Linked DNA regions of Homo sapiens: region 2 is linked to region 1. Evidence: promoter capture Hi-C in human tissues and cell types (Jung and others, 2019). All regions are on one chromosome and are shown on one strand. Each heading gives the region's core, a stretch centred on a gene start or on the middle of the fragment in contact. The rest is flanking DNA. Distances are from core to core; before and after follow the strand shown.

Region 1 (2,606 bases), core at 75-2,574:
GATGAAGGTGGGCTCGGGTTCATGCAGAGCGGCAACCCCCATCCCACCTCCCACAACACACACCTTCAATTTTGATTTGACTTGCCTGGCATCTAGGGGCAAAGGGTGGCCCAGGGTCCCAGATTTTAACAATCATCCAAGGGCCATCATGTTATTCAGAGAGTGGCTTTGTCTGGGTAGGACTGGAGGCAATTGCCCCCAACATCTTGCCCCAAAGTGGCATCAGACACAACTCTTCTGTTCTGTGCCCAAACCATTGCCCTGGTTCAGCCTCAGGAGCTGGAGGAGCTTTGGGCAGGGGAAGAGCTGCACAGTGTGGGGCTGGGTTCAGCCTCTGCTGTGTGACCTTGGATGAGTGACTCACCTCTCTGACCATCTACAAAATGGCGAGGCTCTCCCCATTCACAGGGTGTGGGGAGGAGGACTTGAGCTGCGGATGTGACGCTTCTGACACGTTGCAGGCACACGGCACGTGCTTGTTCCTCGCCATGTCCCCTCACACCTGTGCTGCCATCCTCTGTTGGGGTGGGACAAACTCTGTGGAATTACCCAGAAGTCCCCACCAGAGCCGCTGGCCCTTGGACGTGTGCTTTGAGAGGCATTTCCTGAGCCTGGAGGGTCTGGACACAGGATCAAGTCTGAGTTCCTGACCCCAATTCACTGCCTTGCCCCAGGTGTCGGCCTCCTCGCCAGCCCTGGACAAGATGGGTCATCAGGATGGGACCGTGTGGCACAGCCTGCGGGCTTTGGAGCCAGGCAAACCTGGGCTGGGAATCCTGGCGCTGCCTCGGCCTCCGTGATCTTAGACGGGCAGCCCCACCTCCCTGAGACACCATTTCTCTACAACGGGATCACGCTGCCTGCCTCGTGGGATTTCCGTGGGCACTCAGGGTAATTAATCTAGGGGAAGGCTGACTCTCTACCTGGCACACAGGGAGGCTGTGGTCATGCTGGCCCCACTCACCTTTGCCGGCCTGCTTTCTCCTTCTCTGCCCAGCCTCCTCCCCTCTCCCTCTGTGCTTTTCCAAACCTTCCATGTCCAGCTCTGAGACCCCTGGACCCTGAGCCTCAGCCTTGGCAGATGACCCCTCTCTGTCCTGCTGTGTGCGTGAGCTCCCCCTTCCCAGCCCCCGTCCAGCAGCACCCAGGAGCCTGAGTACAGCTGGGCACCACCCTCTGTGCAGCTATGGTGGGTGGGGAGGCTCCTGTTCCCCTCCCTGTTGGCAGCTCTGCTCTGCTCTGCTCCGGCCTGGGCAGTTCTGATCGGTTTTCAAGGACATTCTAAGTGTTCGCCATAAACCCTGGGCCCAGGCGGGAAAGGGGGGAGGATGTTGATTGTTGGAACACACACCTGTCCAGGTGCAGGGGAGCTGGAGGCTCTGTGAGAGGAGGGCCAGCTCAGCCACAGCAGGAGGACTGACAGGTGAGGGGTCGCTGCAAGATGCTGGGGCCTGCCAGGGCCAGACAGGCAGGGCGGGGGGGGGGGGGTGGTAAGGGCAGGAGCCAGCACCTCACTTTGGCCCTGGTGGGATCTTCTTCTGGGCCTGGGGTTTTGCTGCCTCTGTGGCCTGAGCTGGGGTCAGGGGTGCTCATAGGTGGACAGGGAGAGTCAGAGCCATCCATGGGACTCTGCAGTGAGAGTGTCACAGCCCTGGGCAGAGACTGCTCCCAGCAGTGGAAGCGCCAAGTGACCCAGGAGGGTGGGAGCGGCTGCCACCGAAGGGGAAGGGGCTCTGAGCAGGGCTTGGGCTCCGGCCTGTGCCCAGTCTGCTGCTGGACACAGGGGGACACCTAGGAATCCCACCCCCATCCCACACAATGACACACACAGGCACACACCCTCAGTGACGGAAACTCAGGGATGAAGGCACACACAGACCTAGTGTGATAACTTCACATACACACACACACACACACACACGCACAATCTTTCCTCTTCATGGGTGGGGAGAGCACTGGAAGGGCCTAGAGGCAGTGCGAGGACGTGCAGCAGCTCACCGCGGTCCCTCCCTCTATCCGCTTCTCCAGGGGCCTGATGGAGGAGTTTGTGGGGCTGCGTGAAGGCTCCTCAGGGAACCCTGTGACTCTGCAGGAGCTGTGGGGCCCCTGTCCCCGCATCCGCCGAGGCATCCGAGGTGAGAGCCAGGTCCTCTTCCCTTCCCCCTGGAGGACCACTCAGGACATCATTCCTGCCCAGCTCCCACCCCACCTCCCTGCCCAGGAACCACCCTCCTCCTGGCATTTGTCCAGGACATGACTGCCCAAAGTCTCCTGGGTGGCAGGGAGGGAAGGGGTCTGTCTGTCCAGCTGTCTGTGGGTCAGATGGGCCGGGCATCTGCCCTCTGCCTTTCGGGAGATACAGCCCAAGGCCTGGTCACTGTGCCCATCTTCCACCCAGGCCTCTCCCTCACCTACCTGTGCCAATGAGGGGACGTGGGGGTTAGCTGCTGGGACAGCTGGGGCCACAGCAAGGGGCTGGGGCAGCCTACACTTGGCACCTTTCCTTGGAGCCCCATGTGCTTTGTTCACTTTGAGACCTGACTGTCCCCTCAGCTACGGGGCAGAGCAAGTAGGGACCACAGAAGGAGGCTGACTGCAACCCCAGG
Region 2 (2,606 bases), core at 53-2,552, 110 kb before region 1:
TAATTAAGAGAGATAGCCTTCGAAAAAGGTCTGTACGAGATCTGGAACCTGGTGAGGTGCCTTCTGATTCTGACGAAGATGGTGAACACAAATCCCACTCACCCAGAGCCTCTGCATTATATGAAAGTTCTCGATTGTCTTTTTTATTGAGGGACAGAGAAGACAAGCTACGTGAGCGAGATGAAAGACTCTCTAGTTCTTTAGAAAGGAACAAATTTTACTCTTTTGCATTGGATAAGACAATCACACCAGACACTAAAGCTTTGCTTGAAAGAGCTAAATCCCTCTCTTCATCTCGTGAAGAAAATTGGTCTTTTCTTGATTGGGACTCCCGATTTGCAAATTTTCGAAACAACAAAGATAAAGAAAAGGTTGACTCTGCTCCAAGACCTATTCCATCCTGGTACATGAAAAAGAAGAAAATTAGGACTGATTCAGAAGGGAAAATGGATGATAAGAAAGAGGACCATAAAGAAGAAGAGCAAGAGAGGCAGGAATTGTTTGCTTCTCGTTTTTTACACAGCTCAATCTTTGAACAAGATTCCAAGCGATTGCAGCATCTAGAGAGAAAAGAGGAAGATTCTGACTTCATTTCTGGTAGGATCTATGGGAAGCAGACATCTGAGGGAGCAAACAGCACAACTGATTCCATTCAAGAACCAGTAGTTCTGTTCCATAGCAGATTTATGGAGCTCACACGGATGCAACAGAAAGAAAAAGAAAAAGACCAGAAACCCAAAGAGGTTGAGAAACAGGAAGATACAGAGAATCATCCCAAGACCCCAGAATCTGCTCCTGAGAATAAAGATTCAGAACTGAAAACTCCACCTTCCGTTGGGCCTCCAAGTGTCACAGTCGTAACTCTAGAATCAGCCCCATCAGCACTAGAGAAGACCACTGGTGACAAAACGGTAGAGGCGCCTTTGGTAACAGAAGAGAAGACTGTGGAGCCAGCTACCGTCTCAGAAGAAGCAAAGCCTGCATCTGAACCTGCTCCTGCCCCTGTGGAACAGCTGGAACAAGTAGACCTGCCCCCAGGAGCAGACCCCGATAAAGAAGCTGCCATGATGCCTGCGGGTGTTGAGGAAGGTTCATCAGGTGACCAGCCGCCTTATCTGGATGCCAAGCCTCCAACTCCCGGGGCCTCGTTTTCCCAGGCAGAGAGCAACGTAGATCCAGAGCCTGACAGTACCCAGCCACTTTCAAAACCAGCTCAGAAGTCTGAGGAAGCCAATGAGCCAAAGGCCGAAAAGCCAGACGCCACTGCAGATGCTGAGCCTGATGCAAACCAGAAAGCCGAAGCTGCTCCTGAGTCTCAGCCCCCAGCTTCTGAAGATTTAGAGGTTGATCCTCCAGTTGCTGCAAAGGATAAAAAGCCAAACAAAAGCAAGCGTTCAAAGACCCCTGTTCAGGCAGCTGCAGTGAGTATCGTGGAGAAGCCCGTCACAAGGAAGAGTGAGAGGATAGACCGGGAAAAACTCAAGCGGTCCAATTCTCCTCGGGGAGAAGCACAGAAGCTTTTGGAATTGAAGATGGAGGCAGAGAAGATTACAAGGACTGCTTCTAAAAACTCTGCTGCAGACCTTGAACATCCCGAACCAAGTTTGCCTCTCAGCCGAACAAGGCGCCGGAATGTAAGGAGCGTCTATGCAACCATGGGTGACCATGAAAACCGCTCTCCTGTCAAAGAGCCCGTTGAGCAACCAAGAGTGACCAGAAAGAGATTGGAGCGAGAGCTTCAGGAGGCTGCAGCGGTTCCCACCACCCCTCGGAGGGGAAGGCCTCCAAAGACACGCCGGCGAGCCGATGAAGAGGAGGAGAACGAGGCCAAGGAACCTGCAGAAACACTCAAGCCACCTGAGGGATGGCGGTCGCCAAGGTCCCAGAAAACTGCAGCTGGTGGTGGACCCCAAGGGAAAAAGGGAAAAAATGAACCGAAGGTGGATGCTACACGTCCTGAGGCCACCACTGAGGTGGGCCCCCAAATAGGCGTGAAAGAGAGCTCCATGGAACCCAAGGCTGCTGAGGAGGAGGCAGGGAGTGAACAGAAACGTGACAGAAAAGATGCTGGCACAGACAAAAACCCCCCTGAAACCGCCCCTGTTGAAGTTGTAGAGAAAAAACCGGCCCCTGAAAAAAACTCCAAATCAAAGAGAGGAAGATCTCGAAACTCCAGGTTAGCAGTGGACAAATCTGCAAGTCTGAAAAATGTGGATGCTGCTGTCAGTCCCAGGGGGGCTGCAGCACAGGCAGGGGAGAGGGAATCTGGGGTGGTGGCAGTCTCCCCTGAGAAAAGTGAGAGTCCCCAAAAGGAGGATGGTTTATCATCCCAGTTGAAAAGTGATCCAGTTGATCCAGACAAGGAACCAGAGAAAGAAGACGTGTCTGCCTCTGGGCCGTCCCCAGAAGCCACCCAGTTAGCCAAGCAGATGGAGCTGGAGCAGGCCGTGGAACACATCGCAAAGCTCGCTGAGGCCTCTGCCTCTGCTGCCTATAAGGCAGATGCACCAGAGGGCCTTGCCCCAGAGGACAGGGACAAGCCTGCACACCAAGCAAGTGAAACAGAGCTGGCTGCGGCCATCGGCTCCATCATCAATGACATTTCT

What was found. Contacts are between HindIII fragments. The study calls those that stand out against the background at their distance.
Region 2: a fragment that was not itself captured here is called in contact with the fragment with the promoter of CLCNKB in region 1 in 3 of the 25 tissues and cell types used here (aorta, dorsolateral prefrontal cortex and spleen).

What each region holds. Positions count from the first base shown.
Region 1 is chr1:16,042,458-16,045,063 of GRCh38, forward strand. CLCNKB (chloride voltage-gated channel Kb) reads left to right here and starts at 1,325. Exons shown (of 20, transcript NM_000085.5): 1 at 1,325-1,423; 2 at 2,029-2,135. The coding sequence starts at 2,036. The HindIII fragment of the contact is 23,589 bases long and covers 1-2,606 here.
Region 2 is chr1:15,930,316-15,932,921 of GRCh38, forward strand. It overlaps SPEN (spen family transcriptional repressor), which reads left to right. Exons shown (of 15, transcript NM_015001.3): 11 at 1-2,606. Among named protein-coding and RNA genes, the nearest start is that of ZBTB17, 44 kb to the right of the region's middle. The HindIII fragment of the contact is 3,713 bases long and covers 1-2,606 here.